Regions from separate parts of the Homo sapiens genome. Here all the other regions are linked to region 1. The links are contacts of gene promoters, found by promoter capture Hi-C in human tissues and cell types (Jung and others, 2019). All regions are on one chromosome and are shown on one strand. Each heading gives the region's core, a stretch centred on a gene start or on the middle of the fragment in contact. The rest is flanking DNA. Distances are from core to core; before and after follow the strand shown. Region 1 holds the start of SMIM14 (small integral membrane protein 14). Region 2 overlaps PDS5A (PDS5 cohesin associated factor A). Region 3 overlaps RFC1 (replication factor C subunit 1). Region 4 overlaps RFC1 (replication factor C subunit 1). Region 5 overlaps PDS5A (PDS5 cohesin associated factor A).

What was found. Contacts are between HindIII fragments. The study calls those that stand out against the background at their distance.
Region 2: a contact is called between a fragment that was not itself captured here and the fragment with the promoter of SMIM14 in region 1, in 1 of the 25 tissues and cell types used here (aorta).
Region 3: a fragment that was not itself captured here is called in contact with the fragment with the promoter of SMIM14 in region 1 in 1 of the 25 tissues and cell types used here (hippocampus).
Region 4: a fragment that was not itself captured here is called in contact with the fragment with the promoter of SMIM14 in region 1 in 1 of the 25 tissues and cell types used here (hippocampus).
Region 5: a contact is called between a fragment that was not itself captured here and the fragment with the promoter of SMIM14 in region 1, in 1 of the 25 tissues and cell types used here (lymphoblastoid cells).

The regions. Positions count from the first base shown.
Region 1 is chr4:39,637,231-39,640,613 of GRCh38, reverse strand. It overlaps SMIM14 (small integral membrane protein 14), which reads left to right and starts at 1,749. Exons shown (of 5, transcript NM_174921.3): 1 at 1,749-1,875. SMIM14-DT (SMIM14 divergent transcript) reads right to left here and starts at 1,474. Exons shown (of 6, transcript NR_183845.1): 1 at 1,320-1,474. RefSeq lists an enhancer at 1,090-1,807. The HindIII fragment of the contact is 11,439 bases long and covers 1-3,383 here.
Region 2 is chr4:39,954,045-39,957,427 of GRCh38, reverse strand. The region is part of intron 2 of PDS5A (PDS5 cohesin associated factor A); the gene reads left to right. Among named protein-coding and RNA genes, the nearest start is that of PDS5A, 22 kb to the left of the region's middle. The HindIII fragment of the contact is 7,115 bases long and covers 1-3,383 here.
Region 3 is chr4:39,330,671-39,334,053 of GRCh38, reverse strand. All of the region lies in intron 4 of RFC1 (replication factor C subunit 1), which reads left to right. Among named protein-coding and RNA genes, the nearest start is that of RFC1, 34 kb to the left of the region's middle. The HindIII fragment of the contact is 5,172 bases long and covers 1-3,383 here.
Region 4 is chr4:39,355,210-39,358,592 of GRCh38, reverse strand. All of the region lies in intron 1 of RFC1 (replication factor C subunit 1), which reads left to right. Among named protein-coding and RNA genes, the nearest start is that of RFC1, 9.5 kb to the left of the region's middle. The HindIII fragment of the contact is 7,671 bases long and covers 1-3,383 here.
Region 5 is chr4:39,910,685-39,914,067 of GRCh38, reverse strand. It overlaps PDS5A (PDS5 cohesin associated factor A), which reads left to right. Exons shown (of 33, transcript NM_001100399.2): 9 at 342-457. Among named protein-coding and RNA genes, the nearest start is that of PDS5A, 66 kb to the left of the region's middle. The HindIII fragment of the contact is 3,276 bases long and covers 146-3,383 here.

The sequences.
Region 1 (3,383 bases), core at 500-2,999:
ACCATACTGTTCTCTTAAACACAGCTGTGTTCTCAAACACATACGTGCCCATGGGTGCACTCAAGCATAACAGATTTTGTTTGGAGTTGCACAAATTAAAGACCCTTTGGTACAGTGTCAGCTCATTAGGGCACCAGATTCCATCTCAAACTCTGAATTTGAGTAAGCAGAGTTCAAGGTTGCAGATTAAGGGCCAAAATCTTTATTCTTTGTATCTACTTTGCAATTAGTTAACTGGGAAACACTTCAAGTTTTACCAGAAACCTTTAATTTTCTAGAAACCTTTACCTGTGTTCAATATCCACTTTAATTAAAAAGCTCTTGTAAATGATACTTATTTGGGGAAGGTGATTCAGCTTGTCGAGGGGTAATTAACCAAATTGCTGAGGTGGAAGTCTGGGTAAGTGAAAAGGTCATCAAATCTGAGTAAGAAAGCTTGCAGCTTTCACCTCTCCGTCAAGACTGGCAGAGAGGCACTTTCGTAAAATCTTTGTTTGGGATTCACTTTTACTTCGCCACTTGTCCCATTTTAATTAAAGCTTGCCAACTGAAGGACCTAAGAAAACAATATAGTTCTGCATTTTGCCAAATTGGGAAATTTCCAGGGCCCCCAAAATTTAGCGGGGAGACTCAGAGACTAGAATGGGAGAATAGGAAGCACCAACTTGCTCTAAAAGGAAGATTGGGTAAAAGCAGCACTCTTATTCCAGCTCTACAACCAAAGCAACTAAGACTTGGGCTGGCTGGCTGCCTAGCCACAGCATTCCCTCCTACTTCCCCATTATCTCCTGACCAGCAAGTCATCTTTGGTCACATATCTTTAATTATTTAGTTTGAGACAAAGTCTCACTATCACCCAGGCTGGAGTGCAGTGGCGCGATCTCGGCTCACTGCAACCTCCGCCTCCCGGGTTCAAGCGATTCTTCCACCTCAGCCTCCCGAGTAGCTGGGACTACAAGCGGGCACCACCATGCCCGGCTAATTTTTGTGTTTTTAGTGGAGATGGGGTTTCACCATGTCGGCCAGGCTGGTCTCGGACTCCTGACCTCAAGTGATCCGCCCACCTCTGCCTCCTGAAGTGCTGGGATTACAGGCATGAGTCACCAAGCCCGACTACATATTCCTTTTATTAATATTCCTGTTGAACTTAATTTTGGTCGTTTCCGGTGCAAAAATGTTAAGGTAAAGGGAATCAATAACAGCCACATTTGATGTATTTTTGTAATCCCCATCTCCAATTTCCATCCGGGCCTGAGTAACCAAAAACACTTTACAGGGGTAGACTGTCTCAACAGACATCAATTTGTAACCGCGTCTACCTCTACCACGGTATTCTAAAGACTCCGTCGAGGAAAACCTTTAGCTCGGGCAACGGGAGACACATTACAGAACACTGTCCGCCGCCGAAGAAACAGACGATACGCGGGAGAGTTGAACAGACACCCGGCCTCGCCCCGATTGCTTCACAGTCCTCAGCCACGCCCCTCCCAACCGGAACTACATCCCCCGCACTCCGCGCCCCCACGCACAGCGTGTCGTAGGCGTCCGAAGCCGCAGGCTCCCGCCCGGCTTCCCGGGACGCACAGGGCAGGCGCTGGGCATGCGCATGCTCGGCAGGCGGGGCAGCTGGAGTCTCCAGGCGCTGCAATCTGTTGCGCCGCCGCCCGCGGGAGCCGGCAGATCCGGGTCTTGTGGCTAAGAGTGACGTGGTCACTCGAATCAAAACAGAGGAGGGGGAGGAAGCCGGCGGCCAGAAACGGCAGTGGCAGCAGCGTCCGGAGCAGCCGCAGCCTTCTGGAAGCTCCAGGCGGTCTTTCTGCCGAGCCTCGGTCCCGGCCCCCATCCTCCCCGCCCCATCGGTTGTTGTCTGGGCGGGTGAGTGTCTCCCCCTCTCCCACCAGCGTTTGCTGGCTCACCCTCCCCTCGCCCCAGTTTTTCCTGGGGGCTCCTCAGGCTCTCGGGGACTGCGGCGGCTGCGGCAGAACAGGGCTGTTTCTCGGGCTTGGCGTTTCCTCGGCCGGGCTGGCGATTCTGCACCGGGAGAAGCTCCGCTGCTGCCGAGCCCGCGTCCCCCGCGAAGAGCCTGCAATTGGGTATTCTCTGCAGGATGTCAGAGTCGGGGCTTTGCAGGCAAGGGCAAGGTAGCCACGGGTGGTTTTATTTTTAGGATCAGATTGTCGACGGGTGGAGGCGTATCATGGAGTAAAAAGAGAGTCGTAGCTGGAAGGAAAAACTCACAAATCCTGAAATCCACACTATCTTGTTTACCGTCTCCCTCAGCCCTTTCTGGGTACGGTGAAGTCACTAGGATGCGTCCTTTGTTGTGATAAGTGAGACGAGAAAGCTGACACCCTGAAAGCGAGAGCTTTTTAGCTCCTATTGTGTCGCGAATTTAAAGGATCCCCTTTTTCTGTTTGCTCAGTAAGTGGAACCAAGGCTGACAGTAAAGAGGTAGCAGCACCCTTTATTGGAACTAATAGTGTGTGATAAACTGGTTACCGGCTCTACCCGAAGTCCCGTGTTGCTGTTTAAAGGCAGACTTCACCAAAGTGGCTGTTTATATGTGCCAGGATTTTAGCCGAGATGGTTTGCTAGCTGTAGAGAGTCGGTAGGATGTTTTCAGTTGCCCCAGTTGGCAAAACCGAGGCTGTGGCCTTAATAGAATGTGTTACTTTTGCATCGAGAGAGTCGGATGAGCTTCACACACGTAATAGCTACATTTGCAGAAGAGACCTTCCAGTTTGTGTGTGTTATTGTCAGAAACAGCAGCTGTACATATTATAACTTGGAAAGCGTAAGACCTTCCAGGTGTTGGAGTGTTGGGACGCTTAGGAGGCATTCTTGCTGCCCAGCGCTGTGGAGGTTGCAGGAGGCTTTGCATTCCCTTCCACTTAGGGTGGCTGGCCGCGCAGATTCCTTTAGTGTAGCCTGCTCCGAACTTGCCGCTCTCCGCGGCCGTCGACAGCACTGCGACCAGAAAACCAAACCTTTTTGTCCTAACTTTTTTTTTTTTTCCAACGTGGTGTTTAAGAACACCGCTTCACCCCCGAGAACTCATTAATTGAGGTGTTTCAGTGGTTAACAGCAAGAAAGAACAACAGTACGTGATAGTTAATTGCTCCTTATCAAACCCAGGAAGAGTTATGAGTTTAGATTATTTCCTTGAAGGGTATGTCCTTGTGGTATAACATGAACCCCTTAACGAATCTTTTCTCCAGTGTTTGCCGTTGAGATATTTTTTCTTACTACTGTAGTTGGAATCCTTCTGATTTAGAAGAAGGAAAGATTTCTTGAAGTTCTTTTTCAGCTTTTTACCTTTTATGCTAGCCTATAACTAATATTTTTGGTTATACGAAATACTTTGTGTAATAGAGAAGATGTTG
Region 2 (3,383 bases), core at 436-2,935, 320 kb before region 1:
CCGTGGATGAGTAAAATTTAAAGAGTGGCTAGCAACATTTTATGTACTTAATTATAATATGAATTTTAAAAAATCACTTAGTGTATGCTTTTTCTTTTTCTTTTTTTTCTTGCGATGGAGTCTCGCCTTGTCCCCCAGGCTGGAGTGCAGTGGTGTGAGCCCCCACGCTGGCCCTAAGTAAACCTTAATAGTAAATTGATGCCATTATTTTATTTTGTTAAGTTTAATACTTGAAAATTGGGTTAAGTTCTGTGGCCATGTATAATTATCCTATAACTTCAAATGCTTATTGAATATCCCTCACGTAGCCACTATAGAATAAGTAGAGGTGGATTCCTTGTGTGTGAAAAGAAAATCATTGAATAAAAATTTTTCCTAAGATTCATGAAGATTGAGTCAGTGTAGATAAAGAGAATACTTTGTTTCTGGCAGAAGTTATTTAGAAAATGTCTTTTGGCTGGGTGAGGTGGCTCACGCCTGTAATCCCAGCACTTTGGGAGGCTGAGGCAAGGCAGATCACTTGAGGCCAGGAGTTTGAGACTAGCGCGGGCAACATGGCAAAACCTCTTCTCTACAAAAAATACAAAAATTAGCTGGATGTGGTGCAGGCGCCTATAGTCCTGCCCACTCTGGAGGCTGAGGCAGGAGGATTGTTTAAGCCAAGGAGATTAAGTGTACAGTGAACCATAATTGTGCCGCAGCACTCCAGCCTGGGTGACAGAGTGAGAACCTGTCTCCAAAAAAAAAAAAGTAAGAAAATCTGTCTTTCTTCTTGAAGCATATACCTATAAAGCTTTGAAGAAAGGGTAAAAACCAGGTAGTAATAAAATAAAATTGTCTTTAGATGTTTTTGAAATAATGTTGTATAGCTTTGTTTGCTGTGTTCAGTTCTCATATTTCCTTGATATTTTATCAGACTTTTTTTTTTTTTTTTTTTGAGACAGTCTCGCTCTGTCACCCAGGCTAGAGTGCAGTGGCGCAATCTTGGCTCACTGCAACTTCTGCCTCCTGGGTTCAAGCGATCCTCCCACCTCAGCCTCCCAAGTAGCTGGGACTACAGGCATGAGCCACCATACCTGGCTAATTTTTGTATTTTTTGGTAAACATAGGGTTTCAGCATGTTGGCCGGGCTAGTCTCCAACTCTTGATCTCAAGTGATTTGCCTGCCATAGCCTCCCAAAAGTGCTGGGATTACAGGTGTGAGCCATCGCACCCTGCCAAATGTTTAATACTGTAATCCACTGCTGCTATCTCAATTGTTCTATACGTTTTTCTTATACTGTTTTTTAAAATTGTTCTTTTTTTTTTTTGAGAGGCAGTCTCAGTCTGTTTCTTAAGCTGGAGTGCAGTGGCGAGATCGCAGCTCACTGCAACCTCTGCCTCCCATGTTCAAGCAATCCTCCCACGTCAGCCTCCCGAGCAGCTGGGACTACAGGTGTGTGCCACCACCATGTCTGGCTAATTTTTGTATTTTTAGTAGAGATGGGGTTTCGCCATGTTGGCCAGGCTGGTCTCGAACTCCTGACCTCAGGTAATCCACCTGCCTTGGCCCCCCAAAGTGCTGTGATTACAGGTGTGAACCACCACACCGGCCTTAACTGTTCAAATTTTTAAACAGACTTTTTTTTTTAGGGCAGTTTTAGGTTCACAGCCAAATTGCTGGAATGTACAGAGTATTCCCAACAAACCCCCTGGACTCACTCCTCAGTAACACTCCCGTCCCCCAGGAAGACTTCCCCTCCCCAGTCACACATGCCTCCCACAGTAATGCCTCCCCTCAGTCACCTTCCAGAGTGGTACATTTGTTTGTTTTGTTGTTGTTTTTTTATGACAGAGTCTCGCTCTGTCACCCGGGCTGGAGCACAGTAGCATGATCTCAGCTCACTGCAACCTCCGCTCCCCCGGGTTCAAGCAGTTCTCCCACCTCAGCCTCCCAAGCTGGGATTACAAGCATCCGCCACGACACCTGGGTAATTTTTTGTATTTTTGGTAGAGACGGGGTTTCACCATGTTGGTCAGGCTGGTCTCGAACTCCTGATTTCAGGTGATCTGCCCACCTCAGCCTCCCAAAGTGCTGGGATTACAGGTTTGAGCCACCACGCCCGGCCCTAGAGTGCTATATTTCTAAACCAACATCACAACATTATCACTCAAAGTCCATATTCGTGTATTGTTTCCTTGTATATTTTTCAGCATGGTAAATCCCAAATGTTCTATTCATGTAATGCTCTTGGTTTAAACTCTAAGTTAGATTTAGCATATTGTCCTTTAATATTCCTAATTTTGGCTTTTCTTGTTTGGCCAGGGTGAGCTCTAAGTGCTGATTTACTTTAAATCCTGATGATAATCAGCATGCTTTATTTATTTATTTATATTTTTTGTTTGTGACAGGGTCTCGCTCTGTCACCCAGGCTGGCTGGCGTTCAGTTTCATGATCATGGCTCACTGCTGCCTCCACCTCCTGGGTTCAAGCCATCCTCCCATCTCAGCCTCCCAAGTAGTAGAGACTACAGGCATGTGCTACCACGCCTAGCTAATTTTTGTATTGTTTGTAGACACGGGGTTTGTCATGTTGCCCAGGTCTCAAACTCCTGGACTCACGTGATCCTCCTGCCTCAGCCTCCCAAAGTGTTCATGCCTATTAACAGGCATGAGGCTCTCTGCCTGGCCTCATAGTTATTTTAACGTCTCTGTCTGATAGCTTTAGCGTTTGGTCCACCTCTGTTTCTGTTTTTTTTTTTTTTTTTTTTTTTTTTTACTTATCTCTTGACAATGGGTACTTATTTATGTCTTGACAATGTATTTCAGGCTGGGCACGGTGGCTAACACCTGTAATCCCAGCACTTTGAGAGGCCAAGGCGGGTGGATCACCTGAGGTCAGGAGTTCAAGACCAGCCTGGCCATCATGGTGAAACCCCACCTCTACTAAAATAATACAAAAATTAGCCGAGGGTGGTGGCACATGCCCGTAATCCCAGCTACTCAGGAGGCCGAGGCAGGAGACTCGCTTGAACCTGGGAGGTGGAGGTTGCAGTGAGCTGAGATCGTGGCATGTTTTGTTTTTTTAAGAGACAGGGTCTCGCTCTGTCACCAAGGCTGAGGTGCAGTGGCACCGTCATGGCTCATTGCAGCCTCAAACTCCTGGGCTCAAGCAATCCTCCCACCTCAGCCTCCTAAGTAACTGGGACTACAGGCACATGCCACCCTGCCCAGCTAATTTCTTTTTCTGTTTGTTTGTTTTTTTTTCTCCGTAGAGATAGAGCCTCACTATGTTGTCCAGGATGCTGTCAAACTCCTAGGCTCTAGCAGTCCTCCCACCTCGGCCTCCCAAAGTGCTGAGATTACAGGCGTGGGCCACCATGCCCTGCCTCATCCCATTGTTT
Region 3 (3,383 bases), core at 252-2,751, 310 kb after region 1:
TTTTTCTTTTCATAACTGTGTTTTACTAGAGTTACTCGTACCTTCCTAGGGGCCTAGAGAGCTGTTTATTTTGTAGTTAACAGAGAAAAGGAGCCTTATTTGCACTTTTTGTTTAACACAATGAAAACATACTTGAAGTATCTTATAGAACACTCCCATATTTTTTCTTTGGAGAGCCATGTGTAATTAAATTTTTCTCAGAAATTATAAAAATGTTTATAAAATTATGCCTGTGTTTAGCTATAGTACATTTTTTAAATCTATAGCTTGAAGACATTGTTCAATTTAAATTCATGTATTCAGAGAAGGGCTCTGTTACCCTCCACTATTGTAAAGAGATCTCTGGTAGAGGAGGCTCATAACAAGAACCTCCCCTTTTAGGGGTGATGTTTATACCTATAACATTAGGGTGCACATAAAAGAACAGAGTGATGTATTTTGTTTTTTTGACAGCCGTTTTGCTATTTTCATGAGGTTTTTTTTTTTCAGCCTCGAAATTTGGGCTTAATTTTTGATGGCTTCATGAGTCCATTGTATAGTTAGACCATAATTTATATAAAAATTTCCCCGATTTCAGCATTTCAGTTGCTTATACTTTTCATGTTCCTAATAGTGTGATGACTAGACTAAATTTATATGCAAATATTTGTCATCACCTCTGATTATCTCCAAGAGTTACTATGCTAAAGGATATGAACTTCTTTAAGGTTCTGGTGTGTTCTACCAAATTACTTTCTAGAAAAGTCACACTAATTTACACTTTTATAATTAGTGTTTTTATTAGTACAAACTCATCACATTTTTACCAATATTGTGTATAATATTAAAAAAATCTATATGGCTACCCATAGGGTCATAAAATTGTAAAGGGGAAAATCTTAAGAGTTCGTTTGGTCCAACATTTTACAGAAGATCGCAGTGAAACCCAGATGGTTAATTAAAAATAGTAAGTCAAACTTAGGTTAGAATTTTAGTTTTCTAGACTTCTGGTTCAGCACTGTTTTTCCCAGAGAATACTACTTTTATTTATTGAATGGCTGTAACATGGCTAGGTGCTACACTGGGCACTTAGCCTCTAAAATTTTGTCTTATTGTATTTGTAGAGATGGGGTCTTGCTCTTTTGCCCAGGCTGGTCTTGAACTCCTGGGCTCAAGTGATCCTTCCGTCTTGGCCTCCCAAAGTGCTGGGATTATAGGCGTGGGCCACCATGTCCGGCCCTTCAAGAAAAATTTAATCTTCCCAGTAACCTAAATGTTGATTGGCTTGAAACTGTTTTACTATTTATAGAGAAGGGGACGTAAGGAAGAAATAAGGGCAGACTTCAGAGGCTGAATGTGGAAAAAGTAGATAAACTTTTTCTCCCTGTTCAGCGGATAGATTAAGGAAAGTAGGTGGAATTCACAGGGAAGTATTTTGACTTAATATAAGGAAAAACTTTCCTAAGGAGTATAGTATTTTGCTATTTGCTAAAGAAAGAAGGTGAATTAACATTGCTCGATTTTGAAAGTATTTAAGTCTAGTCTATTTTTTTGTTAGAAATGTAGAAAATGGGGTCTATGTATTGAATAAGGAGGTAGGACTAGTTGACTAAAGATAATTTATTATAAAGTTCTTGGCATGTAGTTTAATGCTCAATAAAAACTTATTAATAGTAAATAAAAAGATACCATGAAGTCTGTGAAGCCAGCAACAGAATAGCAGAGGTGCTGATAAATAATGAACAGAAGTAAGCAAAGAAGAGTGGAGAGGAGGTAGAAACTAAAGCACTGACTCTGAAAGCTAAGGGGTCAGAGAGTTCTAGGATGTATTCAATTTGTTGTAAAACATTAGACGGAGAAAAGGGTGTATTAGTCCGATTTCATGCTGCTAATAAAGACATACCCAAAACTGGGCAATTTATAAAAGAAAGAGGTTTATTGGACTTACAGTTCCACATGGCTGGGGACCTCACAATCATGGTGGAAGGTGAAAGGCACGTCTCAAGTGTCGGCAGACAAGAGAAGAGAGCTTGTGCAGGGAAACTGCCCTTTATAGAACCATCAGATCTCATGAGAGTTATTCACTATCACGAGAACAGCGCAGGAAAGACCTGTCCCCATGATTCATTCACCTTTCTCTGGATCCCTCCCATAATGTGGGAATTCAGGATGAGATTTGGGTTAAGGGCACAGCCAAGCCATATCAAAAGGTGTGAAAAAAACATAAAAATTACCCATATTTCCCTAATCAGAGATAAAAATTGTTAATGTTTTATTGATTCTTTTCAGATTTTAGAATGTGAATTTAAAAGTTATGTATATAGCTATAGATAAACAGTGTCATTAAACATACTGTTATGTCATCTGCTTTTGCCACCTAGTAAACATATGAATATATTTCTATGAGCAAATATAGATATTTTTTATAATTTTTATTGCTGTAGAGATTTTGTTACATGGTTGAGTATACATATTAATAGATATTTAGGTTATTTTTTTTCCCATATTATACACAATACTCACATCTCTCTGTTTGTACTGCCATTGTTATGGTTGTTGAGGCCATCTTTGCCTACGTGGTCATTTACTTTTTGTCTTCCCCTTTTCTTGCCCTGTTACAATCTGCTCTCCATAGTAGTTGATCTCACCCACTCAGCTATGGGGTTTTCTGTCATACTGCTTATAAGCACGGCTAAGTGTAGTGGAAATGGAATGTTAGTATTTTAGGCATTTTTAAGGTGGTAGGAAACTAGTAGAGCACCATCATTTCAGAGACAATTTAAGTTTGTTCTTTCTCCATTAAGGGACTCCCTCTTGCCCAGAAGTACAATTGTTGAACTTAAAGCAAATAAACATTATAAAATTTAATAAGATAAGAAATTTAACATATACTGGGTATAGCTGGTCAGCTGTCAAGTATTAAAAAAATTTGAGTTTCTATAATACCATGATCATTGTGTAATTATTTTAGAGAAAAGGAAAGGACTTTGAGATTATATTCTCAATGGTTAGTTACTAGGACTATTATGGGTGATCCACGTGGCTGTTATAAATGGAATGGTGATGTTACCTAGCCTTTTGCAAAGCCTTTTTCCCGTCTGGCAAAGAGGCAGAGAAGAACCAGTAGTTAGGTAGGGAGAATATATATATATGTGTGTGTGTGTGTGTATATATATATATGAATGACTGAACCTAGTCTGTTGACTCTTTGTAACGTGGTTGAACTGAAATCTGTTAATTGTATCAGGCCTTGGATGTGCTTTAGAAAGAGTTATGGATAAATTTTTAATTAAAGCTTGACGGTAGATTGACTATAGTTGAAGAGAAGTGAAACAAGTATGTTTTAATTTAACTCTTTCGGTTGCAAACACTTTAGTGTAAGCAAAATGGGGAAATTTATTAGG
Region 4 (3,383 bases), core at 279-2,778, 280 kb after region 1:
AACTTCCTTCACTAGCATATAAGCTCTGTAAGGGCAGGGGTCACAAGGAGAGGGAACTGCCATATAGCGCGTGGCTCACGGTGCGTTTTCCACAAATATTAGAGGAATGAATAATTACAAGTGAACTTTATATTTCCACTAAAAATACAAATAAACTAGAAGGTAAAACTTCCTGGTATAAAAACATCTCTCGCACTGTTGCATGACTTTATATCTAAGCTATTAAAACACTTAGCGACAAATAATATTGCCTAGAGAAATACAGTTATTTTATTATGTTGTAGGTCTATTTTCAGTTTGGACTTAATTTCTTTTTTTTTGAAACGGAATTTTGCTCTTGGCCAGGCTGGAGTGCAATGGTGCGATCTCAGCTCACTGCAACCTCTGCCTCCCAGGTTGAAGTGATTCTCCTGTCTCAGCCTCCCTAGTAGCTGGGATTACAGGTGTGCACCACCATGCCTGGCTATTTTTGTATTTTTAAGTAGAGACAGGGTTTCTCCATGTTGGTCAGGCTGGTCTCGAACTCCCAACCTCAGGTGATCCACCCGCCTTGGCCTCCCAAAGTGCTGGGATTACAGGTGTGAGCCACTGCGCTTGGCCCAGTTGGACTTTATTTCTGTGTTCATTTAAGTAGTTTAAATTTGATTTTTTTGGCTCAGAAGTCAGTTGTAAAAAGCTAGCTTCTGGGCCGGGCGCTGTGGCTCATGCCTGTAATCCTGGCACTTTGGGAGGTGGATCATGAGGTCAGGAGTTTGAGACCAGCCTGGCCAACATAGTGAAACCCTGTCCCTACTAAAAATACAGAAAAATTAGCTGGGTATGGTGATGGGCACCTGTAATCCCAGCTACTTGGGAGGCTGAGGCAGGACAACTGCATGAACCTGGGAGTTGGAGGTTGCAGTGAGCTGAAATCGCCCCACTGCACTCCAGCCTGGGCGACAGTGCAAGACTCTGTCTCAAGGGAAAAAAAAAAAAAAGTTAGCTCCTGGATGAATAAAAACCATAATCGGAGTACATTAGCCCTGGTGAAAATGTCAAAATTCTGAAATAAACCATTAGATCAGGCATAAACAGTCTCAAATGCTTTAGTTATCCCAGTTATGCAGGTATGAAAAGATGCTTTTTAAACTTAAATTAGATAATTATTTCCATTTGCTATTTTAATATGCCTGTGTTGATTTGTATTTTTGGATCAGGTACCTGGAAACTTCTGTGATAGAGTATTTCATTGAATGCGTAGTCTAAAGCTCAATGATAGTAAATATTATGACTTCAGAATCTTATTCTTCCCTCTTGCCACAACAGCAGTAGAAATGGGTCTTTTTGCTGTCATGGGAGTGGCCTCTCAGGTAGACTTAACAGATACTGGGGTGAGTAGGGGAAGTAGTTTCTATTCTCTATTTCTGTTCCCTCAGTGTGCTTTATTTCTTCTGTTCTTTCTTTTCTGTGCTCTGCTTTGTTTTCTAAAGATGGATTAAAGAAAGATTAGGAACAGAAAGTAGAATGAAAGCTTCACAAGAACAGAGACCTAGCCTGTTTTGTTTATCCCAAGCATCAAAAATAGTTCTTGGTCCATAAAAGGCTCTGAGTAAATATTTCTTGAATGGATAAATGAATGATTGAATGAAAAAAGTTGATGCGGGCTCTTAAAATTCTTCCTAGCTAGAACTTGTTACTGTTCAAAAGTTTTTCAGACCACACTTATATTTCACTCACCAGTGTTTTCCTCAGAGAAGTTTTTGAGACCCATGCTAGACTGTTAAATTAGTAACATCAATTATAAATCTAGAGATATTTCTGATTTCTTTAAAAAAGTTATTAGTTTGACTTAAAATAAATTTTAAAGAAGAGGAAATGTCCTACTAAAAGTGAAAGTATATTTTTGTTTTTTGTAGCCACAATGTTTTAATATGAGAGTAACAGAAAATCAATTATAGAAACTCAGTTTTATTAACTTAGCTCAGAAATAATATATAATCAGCATTAATTTAATACCTTCTTAAAATTTCTTAGGTAAAGTCATAGCACAAAGTTAATCCCAATTAAAAGATTCTTTTAATACATAATCTTTAAAAACAAATCTACCATTTATTTTGGTTTACATAATCAAGAACCTCTCTTTCTGAGTGCAGTTGTGAAGGTCAGTGGCCTGAGGAATAACCGTTCATGTGTTCAATGAATTTTTTTGTTTTTAAGACGGAGTTTTGCACTTTTTCCCCAGGCTGGAGTGCAGTGGCGTGATCTTGGTCCACTGCACCCTCCACTTCCCGGGCTCAAGCCGTTCTCCTGCCTCAGCCTCCTGAGTAGCTGGGATTACAGGCACGTACCACCAAGCTCGGCTAATTTTTGTATTTTTAGTAGAGATGGGGTTTTGCCATGTTGGCCAGGCCAGTCTGGAACTCCTGACCTCGTAATCCACCCGCCTCGGCCTCCCAAAGTGCTGGGATTACAGGTGTGAGCCATCACGCCCTGCCTACCATTTCTTTTAGAAATGAAATTACTGGGCAAAGGGTATGTACCTTTAAAATTTTGGTAAGTGTGGCTAGATTGCCTTCCATAAAGGTTATACCAGTGTTTTTTTTTTTTTTTTTTGAGGTGAAGTCTCGCTCTGTCACCAGGCTGGAGTGCAGTGGCATGATCTCGGCTCACTGCAGCCTCCACCTCCCGGGTTCAAGCGGTTTTCCTGCCTCAGCTTCCCAAGTAGCTGGGACTACAGGTGTGTGCCACCATGCCCAGCTAATTTTTGTATTTTTAGTAGAGATGGGGTTTCACCATGTCGGCCAGGATGGTCTCGATCTCTTGACCTCGTGATCCACTCACCTCGGCCTCCCAAAGTGCTGGTATTACAGGGGTTAGCCATTGCGCCCAGCCAAGGTTATACCAGTTTTCACTTTTATCAGCAGTATAGTGCGTGAGCATCTGTTTCCCCACATCCTTGACAGATATGGGCATTATCAGTCTTCTAAAACTTAGGGGAAAATGATCAAGTTTTAACTTATCTGCTTATTTGTGACATCTAGCATTTTTTATGTGTGTTGGCTATTTGCATTTCTTTTATACTTTGCCTATTAGGAGCTTTTATTTATTTTTTCTATTGGTTAGGTTATCTTTTATTGATTTGTAGGAACCCTTTTACAAGTTTTGTGTGTGTGTGTGTTTTAAGATAGGTTATTGCTCTGTTGCCCAGGCTGGAGTACAGTGGTGTGATGGTCATGGCTCACTGCAGCCTCAAACTCTTGGCGCGCAAGTGCCACCCCAGCCTCCTGAGTAGCTGGGACTACAGGCATGCAGGCATGTGTCACTACACTAGGCTGATTTTTTTTTTTTTATTTGTAGAGATGGGGGTCTCCCTGTGTTGCCCTGGCTGGTATTAAACTCTTGGG
Region 5 (3,383 bases), core at 534-3,033, 270 kb before region 1:
AACTTTGTCCTTCATAGATGTTTTTATAGGGTTCTTAATGTTAGAAGTGAATTGTATGTCTCATATTTGTACAGTGTCCATAACCAATGTATAGAATGCAATTAATCAGTGAAGTAGACATAAATTAGCAGTTGGGAGGGTGTGAAATAAGAGCAAAAACCCAGATGATCTAACATGAAATTAAATCAATTTCTGCATAGTAAGTGAGGACATATGATATTTTAAACTTCTCACAGTTATAAGCAGAAATATGAAATAGTATCTTCTTGAGAATGTTTCAAGATATTTTCTGTAATCTGGTGAATAAAGCTTAGGCTTCACTTTCTGTTTTCCCTTCTTAGAGCAATGATGGAGAAGAGCGATTAGCTGTTGTTCGACTTCTAGCTAAATTGTTTGGCTCCAAAGATTCTGATTTGGCAACACAGAATCGTCCTCTTTGGCAATGTTTTCTTGGACGGTAAGAGAACATATAATTCTGATGTTTATATTTTAGAAAATAGTCAGTAGGGTGCAGTCCACTTGATTAAAACTATACATATCAAAACTTTCATTAATAGATGTTGGTTTCATTGTCATCTGTGTTTCCATCCTTCTTATGGAATAAATTGTATGAAAAATTTTTTATGAAGAAAGCTTAGTATTTTATCTGTGTAACTCTTTTTAACTTCTTTGTGTTAAAATAATGTCATGGCCAGCCGTGGTGGCTCATGCCTGTAATCCCAGCACTTTGGGAGGCTGAGGTGGGCGGATCACTTGAGGTCAGGAGTTCAGGAGACCAGCCTGACCAACATGGTGTCTCTACTAAAAATACAAAAATTAACCAGGGGTGGTGACCGGCACCTGGAACCGCAACTACGCAAGAGGCTGAGGCGGGAGAATCCTTGAACCCGGGAGGCAGAGTTTGTACTGAGTTGAGTTCAAGCCACTGCATTCCAGCCGGAGTGACAGAGTGAGACTCTGTCTAAAAAAAAAAAAAAAGAAAGTCATTAGAATAAATAAACAGCATTGCAGTATATTCTAAGTCTTAAGATCTTTAAATCATGAAACTGAATACATACTGATCCAAATTTAAGAACCTGTGCCATTTGTCAGCCTACCAACTTTTTCATTTACTAGTGCTTGTCGTTTGGGTCTGTAACTTATCTGAACACATTGTATGGTGTGTTTTAACTAATTTGGTATAATTGTATGATTTTTAAGTGGAAAATATGATTGCCATTAACTCAGATAGTTTTTAATGTTTCTTCTCAAGAGCTTAGAATGACTAAATTCTATTTGGCTTGATAGTAGTGTTGACAAATTTATGAAATTCATTAAATTTCTCCTTGCATTCCATTTACCTGTTTTGCTTTAAAAGCTGATTGGAAAGTAGATATTTACTATTAATATTCTGGAGATGTTCGAGATTCTCCGTTGTTTTAGTTCAACTGATTCAGTAGTTGGTGCCAGAATTTTTCTTGATGTAAATTCACCATAATAGTTCTCATACTAATCCTAGGTTCTGAGAAATCGCTGACAAGGCCTACTGCTATCTTAGCAGTTACTTGCCCAGAACACGCCATTTTGAAGGTCTTATAGGAATAAATGCTAAATAGTTGAATAACTAAATGTGACTCCATGAGAATTTTGAATGGTGGGAATGAAGCAACTGCACTTTCAAAGTTATGGGGGAGGAATTCCCTATCCCAGGATGGACATCAAATATTTTTTGTAAATCATTTAAGCAAAAACGCAAGGCTTCATTTTTCACTTTGGTTACTTTTAAAAATGAAATCACCCAATATAAGTTTCTGACACTCATTATTTTACACTCACTGCTAACTGTAGTGGTGTCTCTGATTCATAGAAACAAGTCACAGTCTGCAGTATTATTTTCCATAATTATAGCGTTAAGTGTTTTGATACTTTGTAATTACTTGATCATTAATAATGTATAATTTTTCTCTGCCAGCCAGAGAATTACAAATCCTAAATGCAGTATTTTATTAACACATGAAAATTTTATCTGGGTAAGAAAGTGGGAGGCCATAGACATTAAGACGTTTATTAAACAATTTTTGTTTACTTGGTTTTTTTATGAGATCATTTCAAAAATAAAAATACTTCCAGCTATTTCAGATCACATTATTTATCATTAATCAGTATATTTTAAAAGTTGCCTAATAATCTGTTTTAAATTTGAGGGTTCCTTACCTTATCCTTAACATGTGCATTTTTTTTTTTTTTTTTTTTAATTGAGACGGAGTCTCACTCTGTCGCCCAGGCTGGAGTGCAGTGGCGCGATCTCTGCTCACTGCAAGCTTCGCCTCCCGGGTTCATGCCATTCTCCTGCCTCAGCCTCCCAAACAGCTGGGACTACAGGCGCCCGCCAGTGCGCCCGGCTAATTTTTTGTATTTTTAGTAGAGACAGGGTTTCACCGTGTTAGCCAGGATGGTCTTGATCTCCCGACCTCGTGATTTGCCCGCCTCGGCCTCCCAAAGTGCTGAGATTGCAGGTGTGAGCCACCGCGCCCGGCCAACATGTGCATTTTTGAGTCTACATATTGTGTTGTATGTTAATTGAATTCTTAACGTATACTAGACCTTTAAAAGAGCACTGTAATACAAGTTGGTGCTGGCCAAAAGAAACTTAAGTGGTGAGACAGTGCAACACAAATTTTTTTTTTTTTTTTGAGACGGAGTCTTACTTCATCGCCCAGGCTGGAGTGCAGTGACGTGATCTCTGCTCACTGCAACCTCTGCCTGGCGGGTTCAAGCAATTCTCCTGCCTCGGCCTCCTGAGTAGCTGGTATTACAGGCACCCACCACCATGCCTGAGCTAGTAACACATTTTCTGCACTCATCTTTGAACTTCTGGATTTGCCCCTTATATATGGTTTGCTCTCTACCTCAAGTTTCCCAGTGTTTGTCTCATATAAACCTTTCGTCTTGTTTTGTTTTGAGACAGGGTCTGTTACCCAGGTTGGAGTGCAGTGGCACAATTATGGCTTACTGCAGCCTCGACCTCCTGGGCTCAAGCAGTCCTTCCACCTCACCCTCCCAAGTAGCTGGGACTACAGGGGAATGCCTCCACGCCCGGCTGATTTTTGTGTTTTTTTGTAGAGACAGGGCTGTGCTGTGTTTTCAAGGCTGATCTTGAACTCCTGAGTGCAAGCAATCCACCCACCTCAGCTTCCTGAGTAATAGCTGGGACTACAGAGGCATGCTACCATGCCTGCCTAATTTTTGTATATTTTGTAGAGACAGGGTTTTGCCATGTGTTCAAGGCTGGTCTTAAACTCCTGGCCACAAGCAATCCACCTGTCTCCGCCTCCCAAAGTGCAGTGATTACAGGTGTCAGCCACCGTGCCTGGAATCTCCTATAAACTTATTCTTCAAACTGA